Linked DNA regions of Homo sapiens: region 1 is linked to region 2. The links are contacts of gene promoters, found by promoter capture Hi-C in blood cells and fetal thymus (Javierre and others, 2016). All regions are on one chromosome and are shown on one strand. Each heading gives the region's core, a stretch centred on a gene start or on the middle of the fragment in contact. The rest is flanking DNA. Distances are from core to core; before and after follow the strand shown.

Region 1 (7,256 bases), core at 2,987-5,486, 140 kb after region 2:
AAAAGTCTAGCTCATACAATTATGAATAACACATAGTACTTGATAATAAATGACTAGGTTACTGGTTTATGTATTTACCATACTATACTTTTTATCATTATTTTAGAGTGTACTCCTTCTACTTAGAAATATGTTAACTGTAAAGCAACCTCAGGCAGGTCCTTCAGGAGGTATTCCAGAAGAAGGCATTGTTATCATAGGCGTTTTCAGCTCCATGCATATTACTGCCCCTGAAAACCTTCCAGTGGGACGAGATATGGAAGTGGGAGACAGTGATATTGATCATCCTGACCCTGTGCAGGCCTAGGAGAGTGTGCGTTCTTGTGTCTTGATTTTTAAGAAAGAAGTTTTAAAAGTTAAAAAAAATTTTAATAGAAAAAAGCTTATAGAATACAGATATAAAAATATTTTTTGTACGCTGTATAATGTGTTTGTGTTTTAGGCTGTTATTACAAAAGAGTCAAAAAGTTGAATTTTTTTTAAGTTTATAAAGTTAAAAAATTATATTAAGCTGGCTGGGCACGGTGGCTCACGCCTGTAATCCCAGCACTTTGGGAGGCTGAGAGGGGTGGTTCACTTGAGGTCAGGAGTTTGAGACCAGCCTGGCCAACATGGTGAAACCCCATCTCTACTAAAAAAAAAAAAAAAATAGCCAGGAGTGGTGGCACGTCCCTGTAATCCCAGCTACTCAGGAGGTCGGGGCAGGAGAATCACTTGAACCCAGGAGGCGGCAGTTGCAGTGAGCTGAGATCGCGCCACTGCACTCCAGCCTGGGTGACAGAGCAAGACTCTGTCTCAAAAAAAAAAAAAAAAAAAAAAAAAAAAATATATATATATATATATATATATATATATGCTAAGGTTAATTTATTGTATAAGAAAGAAAAAATTTTAAAATAAATTTAATGTAGCCTAAGTATACAGTGTTTGTAAAGTCTACAATAGCGTAATGTTCTAGGCCTTCACATTCACTCACCACTCACTCACTGACTCATCCAGAGTAACTTTGAGTTCTTCAAGCTCTATTCACAGTAAGTGCCCTATACAAGTCTACCATTTTAAATCTTTTATATTGTATTTTTACTGTACCTTTTCTATGTCAAGATACACAAATGCCATTGTGTTATAACTGCCTACAGTACTCAGTACAGTAACATGCTGTACAGATTTGTAGCCTAGGAGCAATAGGCTATATACAGTCTAGGTGTGTAGTAGGCTATGCCACCAAGGTTTGTGTAAGTACACTCTGATGTTCGCACAATGACAAAATCACCTAACAATGTATTTATTAGAATGTATCCCCCACAATAAATAACACAAGATAGTCCATAAATCAAGCATCAACAACTTCGGGGCAGAGGATAGGAGGCAAGCTACATGTGTCAAGGCGGCTTTATGGAAAACTGAACACCTACCATATAACTTCAGGAGGGAGCGTGGAGGACCCTGGGCTGTGGGCTGTGTGCTCAGGATGTTTGAATGCAGGACAGCCAGCATGGAAGGCTGATAGGAGAAGCACTGTCAAGATCACTGGTTTTCAACCCTACCTGCATCAGAATCCCCTTGGAAGTTTTAAAACTACTGGGTCCCACCCCTAGAGATTCTGATTGAAATGGAGCGCCACATTAGGATTTCTATAAATTTCCCAAGTGATTTTAACATACAACAGGGTTTAAGAACCACTGGCGGCTGGGCGAGGTGGCTCACGCCTGTAATCCCTGCATTTTGGAAGGCCGAGGCAGGCGGATCACTTGAGGTCAGGAGTTCAAGACCAGCCTGGCCAACATGGTGAAACCCCATCTCTACTAACAATACGAAAATTAGCCGGGTGCCTGTAATCCCAGCTACTTAGGAGGCGAGGCAGGAGAATCGTTTGAATGCAGGAGGCAGAGGTTGCAGTGAGCCAACATAGTGCCACTACACTCCAGCCTGGGTGACAGAGCTAGACTCTGTCTCAAAAAAAAAAAAAAAAAAAAAAAAAAAAAACAACAAAAACAAAAGAATCACTGGCGTAGGTATGACCAGCTCAACCCTTGTTCCACACTCCCTGAAATTTTGTCAGAAATTCCAAAGACTTCCATGAGATTTCTGCTCTGACTCTGTCTTGGACAGCAACTTTCTCTTGGAATATAATGTTTTGATTAGCATTATTGAATAGAAATGTAATGTGAGCCACATATATAATATTTTCACATATCTACTTGGTGGAAGGAGACTGACCTGGGGAACTGCTGTGTGACAGGCTCTGTGCTGGCCCCACAATCAACCCTGCAATCAGTAGCATCATCTCCACTTTACAGATGACTAAGTGGAGGGTCATAAAAGCTGACTATCATGCCCCAAACCATACAGCTAGTAAGAGGAAGAGCTTGCATTAGAATTTAGATTTACTGAATTTAAAATCCCGAAGTCAGATCCATCCTCAGGAGAGGAAATCCACTGGGGAAAAAGGTCAGAACCAGCCATAAGGGAGCTCTTACAGAGTAGGAAGATGTTGGGTTTGGAGAGGAGATCTCAGAAGAGATCCATGAGTGCCATCTTCCAATACCTGAAGGCTCACCGGTGGTTAGACTGGCTCTGTGTCATTCCAAGGGGTAGCAGTAGAGTCAATAGGTAGAAGTTGTAAGGAGAAATATTTCCACGGAGACTGAGGACACATTTTGTCAACAGTCAGAGCTGCCCAAATTCGGATACTTTGGAAGATAGTGAGGACCAGGTGCTGCAGAAGACCAAGCAAAGGCTTTTGATACTTGGCCTGTTCCCCAAAGGCTGCAGCACTGTTCTGTGGAGTGGCTACATCAATTCGCCTGGGTGTTATTCAAAATAAGCAGGTCCATCCCAGGCCTACTATATCAGAATCTCACGGAAGTGAGGCCCAATGACTTTTATTTTGAACAAGTGTTTGCAGTTATTGTGATGTTGTGATGTGCAGCCAGGATTCAGAGCCACTGCTGCACAGAGGACGACATTTAAGCATCCGTTGGATGGTTGGACTATATGACTTTTCAAATCTCTTCCAGTGTTGAAATTCTATTATACCATGTTCGCTAAAGCTTGCCAACCAAATTATGGTGAGTGAACTTGGCAAGATTAATCATTTCCTTATTTGGCCTGTTTACTACTTAATGGGCAGCAGTGGGGGTAGAGTTCTTTGGCTAAAAAAGCAAAACTGCTAGTTGCCCACATTAGTTGAGATGCATTAGATTTTAACTCTTTTTTTTTTTTTTTCCTTTGGTAAGACAGGAATTCAGGGGAAGGGGCAAGGTAAAACAAGAAATATTTTCTCATATTTTCTTGCTAATAGAAATGTCAAATTTTTGCACTCATTGCCAGGAACCATGGAGTTCCAAGCTCTTTTATAAAAGGCAGTTAGGAACTTTGAGTTGGTCTACTATAGATAAGGATAGCAAAGGGCTGCAAAACTTGGCCTGTGGGATGAGACCATGTTAACAGTTTCCAAGGAAGCAGCTTTTACAAGCTTTATTCATAACACACCATTGACGAAAAGAAACAAGTGCCAAGCCCCATCAAGTTGAGGTATTGTTGAGAACACAGCTGGGTCACAGACGGAGTTGGAAAATGCAACCAGAGGAACACCAAGAGCAGCAAACTGAGAATGAGTTTTTGCTTTTCAGTCTCATCACTGAAAAGACACCCACGGCCCTCAGTCCAAATAGAAAGGAATCCTTGAGGACTGAAGCTGGGGTCACAGAACATCTGAATCACCAGATCCAGGTGCTGCACGCTCTTGGTCAGAGTGAGGACTGTACAAAAAGAAAAACAGGATCCCCTCTCCGAAAAGCAAATGAAGTGGTCATTTCTTTGCCCAGAACAATGCAGAAAAGTTCATCATTTTGCTGCCTTTTTTATGGAAAGATAGCCTGAAGGACAGGTACTGAACTAAAAAAAATTAGCTAAGGAGGCCAACAAGAATCCAGGTAAAAAGAAAATGTGGTAATAAATGCCTTAACTCCATTAAGTTTGAGCCAATAGCTGCTCAGTCAGGAAAAGCCATAAATGTAGAGGAGGCTGTTATTGGTTTCAGGTTCTCTATTTCTCCCTGAAGGGCATTATTTTGTTCTTTGCTTCACTCAGCTATTAAACATGGTCTTTTGAGAACAATATCTGGATTTAAGACACGTGGAATCTATTTTTTTTTCCCCTAAAACTTCCATCAAGTCATTTGTCCCCACTCTTTCTAGTTGGTCATATTTCTGGCACGGCTATAACAACCGTTTTATCATTTCTTATGGGATAATCCGATTCCAGTTCTCATGGCTCCTTCCGGTTCTACATTCGGGTTGTCTCTTTCTCTATAAGCGAGTGGGCTGCCATCATTTCAGATCTGTGCCTGTGGTTTGTGTGCCTCGACAAGCCATTGTCATGTGGACACAGCTCAGAAAAGTGTCTACATCTGGAAAGAATGGGGAACAGCTCATCTATGTACTCGGTAATAAACGCTCCCGAATATTCCCATACTAGGATTTCTACTGGGAATTCAAAGAAAGTCAGTGTGGTCTGACTTTTGTTTTTGTTTAAGGAAGTGGTTTTCAAAGTGAGGTCTCTGGTGGCTGTGAGCTAATTAAAAAATGCAACTCCTTCACCGACTTCCATTTTTATGTACCACTCAGGTCTTCTTACTAGGAATTTATAAACAAAATTAGCACCATACTTGAGGATGCACAGAACTCTATTTTGTCCTCTCCTAAGAGGTCCGGCTGTGAAAACACTTGGCATCACGACTTTGACTTACTTTTTTTCCTAATAAACAGATTTCATGACCTAGTATGCATCGTGGTTAACCACAGCTACAGCTAAATAAAACATCTACATGTAAACAACCTCTTCTTGTTACTATCTAGTTGCTCTTCCATGGAAGGTTGAAATGGGTGGACCATTACAGTCTTTTGTCTCAACTGAATGGTGTGGAACCATAAAAGTTTGTGAGGACTAGTCTAAAACAATGGGATGTACCAGAAATGGAACAAGCTTTTGGAGTCAGACCAACCTAGGGTCAAGCCTCCATGCACGGATTTCAGTCGGCAGGTTGAAATCCAGCCTACACTCTGCCAGTCAAGCCTCTGTAGAGCTTGGTTTCATTCAACATTTACTTCCCTAGGAGTAAGGGGGAAGGAGTAGGAGCTGACTTTGTAATCTAATGTACATGAAGGTGTATAGACCAGCTGCGGCCCTGAAAATACACCTTCATAGCAGTGTGACTTTGGGAAAATGCTTATTGTCTCTGTAGCCCAGTCTCCTTGTCTGAAATTGTAGGCTAATCATTTCTCCTTTGCAGGACTGTTGTTGAGGTAATTAGATGATGTATGTAAACTGCCTGGTGCACTGTAACAGATGTCAGCAAACCTGAGCTCTGCTGAGGGCCACCATCTACTCCCAGCCCTAAACTCAAATGAGTTGGGGTGAAGTGACTTCTCCTAGACGAGAAGCATCAGTATCCCAGATGAGATGTTCTGTCCAGCCAAACATTCTTTAGTTTTTGTGGCAGAGATGTCAAAGTCTTTGGGGGATAGACAGACTTAAGTGTCATTCCCAACCCTCCTACCCACTCACTATATGACTTTGAGCAAGTTATTCATTCCTCTGCGTCTCCTGTTTTCTCATCTGTAAAATGGGAACAAATAAAACTGATTTCAAAGCACAGAAGATGAAATGATTAACACAACAAGCCAAGATTACGCTTGGCACAGTTTTAGGTGCTCAACAAATTTGAGTTCTTTTCTCCCATACCCCCAACCCTTCCTTATCTGGTTCTTGGTTTCATTTAACATTTACTAAACCCCATCCAAAGAGAAGTGCAGTCTTCACCTTCCTCAGCGCTCTTTCATGAAACCAAAAAATTACTTATAGCCTTCCATGCATATTTTGATTAAATCAAATAACCACTTCATAGACTTACTATATCCTGGCAGCTGTGTAGATAAACCGGGTAGAAAGATAGAAAAAAGATACAATAAATAGGACTGAATAAAGATCACAGAAACCATCCTAGTTATATTTGGGACTTGGGATGTGATAGCAATGGCCCTACAAATCAGGATATTAGGACAGCTGGCTATTGAAATGGAAAAAATACAATAAAATTAGGTCTCCACCTTGCCCACCATATAGAAATAAATTCCTCATGGACTGAAGACCTATATAAAACTTTACAATATTTAATCTTAGGGACAGGCAAGGATTTCTTAGACAGGATGCAAAAGAAAGCTGAACTCAAAAAGTGGATACATCTGAGTTCAAAATGAAAACCACCTGGAAATATATGTAGCAGACATCATAAAAGTGTTAAAAGACTGATGACAGGCTAGGAGATGTTTGCAACAAATAAAACAGATGAAAGATTATATTCAAAATATACAAAGAACTATAAATTATTTTTTTAACTCCATTAGAAAAATAAAAAAGGACAGGGACAAAGAGGGCACATCGGAGTAAGTACGGCCAACATCCCCCATAGAGCGTGTGCTCAACCTCCCTAGTCATCAGGAAAATGAAGGTTAAAACCCCAAAGAGCTCCCATCGGATTATCAGAAATCAAAAAGTCTGACAAAATTGACTGCCTGAGAGGATGCAGGGACACAGAAGCTCTTATACAGGAGCTGCTAGTGGGAGGGTCAACTGGTTGCCATCACTTTGCAGAGCAATTTGGCTACACATACAAAAGTGGAATCCACGTGCACTCTACAAAATCGCAGTGTCATTTGAAATGTCAGCAAATTGGAAACAACCTGAACTGCCATCAAGATGGGAATAAATACGCTGAGGAATGTTCATAGGGTGAAACATGGGAGTGAATGCTGTCTCTATGCACACACATGGCCCAAGCTCAGTGCTGAGTGAAAACAGCAACTTACAGATGGGTATACATTCCTGTAACTGTAAAGTAATAACCCAGCCACACTGCAGTTTATGACACATGTGCACTTAGTAGAAGCACAGAACAAGAACGGGAGGGACACACTAGCTTAGTGATCATGCATGTCTTAGGGAGAGAAGAGAATGAGATTAAGTCAGGGACAAAAGAGCCTTTCATTGTATCTGTAATATTCTCTTGCTTTCTAATTTTTTTTTAATAACAAAATGTCAATCTTTGTTCATTCTGGGTGGTGGGCATGCTGCGTTTTTAGTGTGTTGTGTTTAGAATTTTTTTTCAAACCAATAGAAAGTATTAAACTCTGGAACTTTGAAAAGGAACAATGAAGATCAAGTTTGAGGCTTGCCTGAGGAATTCAATTTAG
Region 2 (6,798 bases), core at 2,856-5,355:
TAATGAGGAACAGGTTTTAAGGACGACGACTGGGGGAGGTTCTATAAACCTTCCTACTGGAGGACATTTCCTGTCCCTACGTATCTGTCAACTTTAGAAAGGGGTTTGTTCACAATCTCAATTGACACGTATTTGTGTCCTGCTAAATTCTACTATCAAAAAGCGTTTCATTTCTGAGACATTCATACTCCCGCTGTTTGACTCATGACTGTACATTAGACTCAAAGTTTGGAAAATTGGTTTCCTGATTCTTTACCTGAATCTTTTCAAATAACTGTATTTTAAGACCTACACACGTAGGCAAAAATTTCCTCCCCGGAGCACAACGCATATAAAAATACATATTGACTTCAGTCCTCCTTGCCAACCCAACTCCCACTATAAAATAGTCACAAAAAAAGGTAGTTGTTTCTTTAATACCTAAGAAGCGTTAATACCAAAAAGCTTTATCAACTTCATCTTGACAGACAGCATTTGCATTTCCAAAAAACTGGCAAGAGATTTGCAGGAGTAACTCATACCTATTTCCAGAGAGTCATTCTTGTTCAGACCACTTGCAATGGGGGCTTTCCTCTACCCACGGTTTAGAAACCACTTTCCAACATGCAGTTAGCAGCCTGTTAGTCTGCCAATTCAGGCTTCTTTTTCACTCCTACTCCTGGTGAATGTGCCCCTTCCAATTCTATGGGCAACACCTACCTTCCAAATCAATATACTTCACAGAACAGCCTCTATAGGGTCCCACTAACATCAATTTTCCCCATTCTCTTTCCTGGATACACTGTCCCTCTCCATTTTTTTACCTTTTTCTATTAACTTTAGGTCTGCTTTAACACTAATAGCTACTCTTTCAGCAAGATTATCAAGGAGCTAAATTCATTGCAAAAACAAAACAAAAGCCCTGATGTTAATTTATAGGTAAAATTACTATTTGTAGCTTCCCACCTTTCATTTTTCTACACCTATCATCTCTTTTCCAGAACTTCCAAATAAATTCTTAACTTGTTTAAAATAAACAAAGTATGTCTAGTGAAAAAAATCCCCCTCTCTGTAATTCACTCACAACAAAAGCAGAGTATTTTCTATTTGATACCTGTGTCTTTACCCCCAAATATATTCATGTACACCAGGGATATCTAGCAAAATATAAAAATGCAAATTACCAAAAGCAAGTATCCTGGCTTGAGCACGTGAGGCCAAAACGTGAATGAGGATCAGAGAGCCTAGAGGATTGAGGTGGGGCGCAGTATTAAGGAAGGGCCCGTCCCAAGTGGGCAGAGTAGATGTCAGGTTCCAGGAAAACCGCACAGGGCTAATCAGTGAGGGTCAGTCAGGCCTCCTGAGAAGCTGTACAATCAAACCAAACCTATAAAAATGAGAACAATCTTGCAGAGGCACCTTGCCACTTAAGACCTCCACACTATTTTTTAAAAGTCACTCCTTCATCAGCCCATGGTTAGGTCACCAAAACACTGCCAAGTTTTCAAATTACAAGTCAGGGAGAATGACAGAACAAACTCTCAAACCCTGACTTCCAGGCTCACTACTCAGTGGAGAGATCTAAAGTCTCATGTTCTACTTTATTTTAAAAATTTTTAAGAAGGGTATCCCTATCCCATCATTTGGAGTTCTTACTATCTTCCTGGTTTGCCACCTTTTTAACAACTGCCTAACTCTGAGAGCAGAAGGATTTATGAAAGGGTGTCTCAGAGCTCCTAGGAATCCACTAAAGATGATTTTGAGGGTCATGGCGATCAGAGGATATTACTGAAGGATGGCAGGGGTAAAAAGTAGCTACCTCCAGAGGCTTAAGAGGAAAAGAATAAAGAAAAAGGGTGACCGCTTAGGATGGCAGGGATAAAAAGTAGCTACCTTCAGGGCCTTAAGAGGAAAAGAATAAAGTAAAAGGGAGACCACTTAAATTGAAAAAATAAGGCAAAGTAACATTTTCACAGCATGAGGACAGCAAATAGCATGAAAAAAAGACAAGTCTCCCTGAAATTGGTAAACTGAAGTTTTTAAAGAGAACCACAAAAATAACCTAGAATAACCATTTTATAGTCACTTACTGATTCATTCATTTGCCTCAACTCTCAGAAAAATCTCTTTAAATTCCACCAGAAAACATCTGTCTTCACCTACTAAATTTTGTACCTGCTAATATGAGTTTCTTATTCCTTATGCAATTTGTGAAGAAAGCTCTATTTAGAAAAGATCATCCATGCAACAGGTGAGGAGAAGGTAAAATGGTCACAGAATTCATTTTGATGCAGTTCTCTGGGCTGGTATTAGTAATTAAGAAATGGGATCATGGCCTTGGGGAAGGTCACAGATTAACCATTAGTAGGACAAGAAATCTGAAATCAGATTTGGGGGTCACTAATAAAAGTAACGAGGAATCTTACAAACTTCAGCAAGAAATGCGAGAGGCAAGCCGCAACAGCTGCATGTGAGCAATGATTTAAAAACAGAAGCAGCAATAGAGAAAATAATTAGGGCTTCCAAGGCCCTTCTTTCATTTTTAAGAACACATAAACCATGAGGAGCGTTTAAGCTATCCTCATTGGGAGGCAGACCAAATGCAGCAAGAGGCAGTTCGGAAATAGGAAGCCTGTGGAAAAAAAAAAGAGCACAGTACCTCTTGGCGCTGGTGGAGAGGAGTTTGGAGTTTTTGCTCATGCTGACTTTACTCTCCTTCTTCTTGGGGGTGTTTGTTTCTTTCTCGGTTTGCTGGTTGGAAGACGAAGATGAGGAGGAGCTGGTGCTGGCCCTCGAATCGTCATCCGACATAGCGAACCCCCCACCCCACCCCGCAAACAGCCCCTGCAGGGGGAGAGAAACAAAACAGAAACACACAAACCATGCAGCCAGTGTAAATAAGGAACTCGGGTGCTGTCAGGAGGGCATTGACCAGGGGCGCACGCGGCCGCCCACCGCCCTCCACTCGCTTTTCAAAGTCTGCAGGCCCATTAAGGCTTTTGCAAATCGGACGCGGCTTGTTTATTTTTGGCCCCAAGTGGGGAACGCTGTGGGAAAACGGTCTGGAGCTAGGAGAGAGGCCCCTCCCTCGCCCCCCGGGGCTCTCCGCTGGGCAGGGAGGGAGTAGCCCGGGAGGCGAAGGAGGGCAGGGCGGGGGGCGCGGGGCGCCACGGCGGGGCAGGGAGGGAAGGTCCCGGCGGCCGGCCGGCCTCGGGGCTGTTTTTGTCCGCTTTCCGGGGGTCGTGAGGGGCCGGTGGCCCGGGTGAGACTGTGGGGCCACGAGCGGAGTTTGGCGAGGTCGGGAAGAGAGGAGGGGCGGGAAGGAGTAAGAGAGGAAGCCGAAACAGGGGGACGGAGGCGGGGAGCGGGTGCCCGGGTGGGGGAAGGGAGAGGCCGGCGGGGGGCAGGGGCGACGAGGCCCGAGGCCCCCCCGCGCCGCGCCCCGACGCCCCTCCCGGCCTGCCTGCCTCTGGCCGCCCTGCTCACAGCTATGCGGCCGGGCGGGGGTCCGGAGCACACGCCCGATCGCCACTCCTGTAGGGGGATAGGGGCTGCGGCGGGGAATGGGGGGGTCGGCCTCCGCAGCGAAGACATAACAATGAGCCCTTCCGCCCCGGAGGGGTTAATCCCCGCGAACCCCCGCCCCTGGGGAAAACGGGGCTCCCCCAACTCCCTCCCACCCCCGCTCCCGGGCCCCTCGGTGGCCAGTGGGGGGCTCTTGGGGCAGCGCTGACAGTTCGAGCCACAATGACCCCCGTCCTCAATGCGGGCGGCCCCCGCACCCCACGCGGCCCGGGGTCCCTGCCCATCCCCCGCGGGCGGGCCCCGGACCCCTGGGGCTCCCCAGCCCCTCTCCGCTCCCCCCCCGCGCCGGCCCCGTGCCCTGCGGCCCGGCGGCCCCGGCGGCGCGAGTCGGGGGAGGCGGCGAGGGGTGTCCCCGAGGCCCGGCGGCGCGGCCGGGGGGCGGCGGGCCGCTGGGGGGATCCCCGTACCTCTCTTTGTGTCTGGCTCCTCCGTGCCGCCGCGGCGGCTGCTGCTGCGGCTGCGGCTGGGCCTGGCCACTCGTGTCTCTCTCTCGCTGGGAGAGAAGCGGAAGTGCAGCAACAGCAACTATTAAACAGGCAATGGCTTCCCCCAGCCACACACGCTCGCACACACACCACTCCTCCGCCGCCGCCTCCTCCTCCTCCTCCTCCTCGCCCTCACCCCTCCCCCACCCGGCCCGGTCCCACCCACCCGCGCTCCCCTCCCCCTGCAACACCTCCTGGGGGTGCGCGAGGAAGACCCAGGAGACCCCAGGAAACCCTGTCCCCCACAGACACCCCCACCCCAGCGCCTCCTCCGGACGCCCGGGAAGGGGGCGAGGGTTGTGAATTTTCTCTTAAGTGGTTTGGGAACCTGGATTCTGGGCGGGAGAGGGGAAGCCGATGGAGATGGGGGGCGCTGGGAGTGATTGGAACTAGATGGAATAGGGGGGTCACGAGAGAAAGTTCTTTCCAATGAGGGCTTTTGGAAAGGAGAGGAGTAGGGAGGTGGCAAATTGGTGAAAACGTTGGTAATCTGGTGGTGGCAAAGACTTTAGAGAATGCAGCGGGTACTCCACCTAAAAAGCGATTAAAGAGAAAAAAAAAATCACACAACAAGGGTTTTCTTTGGACTGACACTTGCTTCTCCTTCTAGCAATTTACCTGCTAGGAGCAGAGGTCAGTTTAGGTATGCCTGTGAGAAAATCCCAAACTAGGAATTTTCTGCTCAGGTCACGCGAGGCACGTGCAGTTTTACAATATTAGATTCTTCCACTCACTTTTTATAGAAAGTGATGTGGTTTTTTATAAGAGTGATACAAAGGTTTTGGTGACAGGTAAAACCAACGTGTAACGGGCTTGCGAATGTGAGACATCACTGGGAATAAGCTATATACTACTGAATTAGACTGGATTTAGAATTTTTTGTGTCATTTTACATTAGATGTAAGGTTTGGTTTTTGGAAATTGGATGCAAAGTTCTGGGGATCGCAGAATCCCCAGATCGCTAAATTGACCAAATTATTTTTAAAATATTAAGCCATTTTTCTCTTTCTTTAGCTACCTATAAATGCTATGCAAATAATATTTTTGAAATGATCAGCAATTCTTCTGAATTGTTCCTTATTTAGCATTTTTGCCAATTTTTTTTTAATATTAAGCCATCAAATTACGATTCAGTTTCTCACCTTTTGTCATTTCAGTTGAAGGGAACTAAAGAGATGTGTGCCATTCAAATACAACAGTGCCACACATACAAGGTCTTGTACATTAAGGAGACAGCCTCAGATTTCCATAGGTCACTCTAAATTATCTCATTCAAACTGCCATCATTTTCCACAGCAACAGTGGCTTCAGTTACCACAGGACAACACAAGATATACAGCCCATGGCATATCCAGTAACCAGGAAAACAAGCATTCTCACGACCCAGCCGAACTCCTTCTAACCATCAACCTGAAATTCCAGCTTTATCAAGACTCATAAAGTAATTGTGCATGCTTCTTGCTCAATCCCTACCAGGAAACCTGTATCTACCAGGAGTTGTCATAGAATAAGAAGTTCAAAAGCTGGAAGAAATCTTCAGGGTCATAATTTCAGCCTCCTGCTTCCAGACAGAACTATTTCTCCACCACTGAAATGCATATAGATTTTGAAAAAATTTCCAGACATAACCTTTCTTAAGTGTTTGGTTTCAGGAGTCCTGGTAGAGTATATAAAAATGATGACATTCTTTGCTATATATTTGAAAAAATTTTTTAAACTTCTGAAAAACTGATTGTATTCTTTTTGTTCTGATGAAAAGATGTAAATTCAGAAGAAAACAATAAGAAGATGAAATAAACTCAGGATGAGGAAAATAATCTAAAAATAGTTATTAAAATTGAAATTTCCTCCTATGAAAATTTGGATTTCTGATACTTAAAAATATATGTCTACATTATGAATACAACCAGTAAAAAAATCATGTGTTATAAAGACAAGAACTAGCAGAGATCACAGGAAAATAAAAGGTTTGATTTGCTGAAGTGATCAGGACAGTAGGTGAATTTTTTCTTTAATATTGGTTTGCATAAATTGCCTACCAGCTATAATAAGAATTCTTTTGTAACAGAACATGATATTTTGTGTTGTGTTACTGATGCTTGGGTTGGACTGATTCCTTGTGAAAGAAATCATGAAATCTAACAGCTCCTCCTATAAGGAAAAGTGATTTCCCAACCACCTGTCTGGAAGGTTTCTTGCCCTCTTTTGTGTACTGTTCCCCCTAATCTCTAATTCCAGCTAGCTTAAGTTAGTGCTTTATCGTTTTGGAATGACCTGATGACAGGGAATAAAAACTTCAAAATGTTTAGAAAAGAATCCAGTCCTCTCAAAAGACTAATCTTTATGTCGAATTATTTTTAAGACCTGTATGCAGCTGTCTTAGGGGAAAAAAAATTCATACACAACTTTCTATCTCTCCTTCTTATTAACTACAAGGCCTAAAAAGCTAAATTGACCTCCCTGAGCCTCAGTTCCCTCATCCATAAAGGGCAGAAATACCTGTGCTCTACTGACTGGCAAGGTCAAATATGTATCTGTAAGTAAGGTGATTTATTAGCTGTTACGCAAAGTAAATTATTAATAATTCCACTCTAGTGGAATTTTCTTAGTTCATGGGTTTGGGGTTATTTGTTGCTTTTATGTTTTTGTTTTTCGTCACCAGGGCAGAAAAGAGGACATGGGGTTTTTATAACTTAGAATTGATGAAAATATAAGAAACCTTCCAGGAGAAACATATACTCAAGGAATC

Evidence for each region. Contacts are between HindIII fragments. The CHiCAGO score rates a contact against its expected background, and 5 or more counts as called.
Region 1: a contact is called between a fragment that was not itself captured here and the fragment with the promoter of UBE2E1 in region 2, in 1 of 17 cell types (monocytes). The highest score is 6.0, in monocytes.

What each region holds. Positions count from the first base shown.
Region 1 is chr3:23,659,681-23,666,936 of GRCh38, reverse strand. It overlaps LOC124909353 (a long non-coding RNA gene), which reads right to left and starts at 822. Exons shown (of 2, transcript XR_007095844.1): 1 at 1-822. The HindIII fragment of the contact is 1,511 bases long and covers 3,481-4,991 here.
Region 2 is chr3:23,803,262-23,810,059 of GRCh38, reverse strand. UBE2E1 (ubiquitin conjugating enzyme E2 E1) reads right to left here and starts at 4,105. Exons shown (of 6, transcript NM_003341.5): 1 at 3,972-4,105; 2 at 2,639-2,823. The coding sequence starts at 2,790. UBE2E1-AS1 (UBE2E1 antisense RNA 1) reads left to right here and starts at 3,155. Exons shown (of 2, transcript NR_046652.1): 1 at 3,155-3,241; 2 at 5,346-6,036. RefSeq lists an enhancer at 2,590-2,679 and silencers at 2,980-3,159, 3,360-3,659, 3,850-3,979, 4,060-4,169. The HindIII fragment of the contact is 12,732 bases long and covers 447-6,798 here.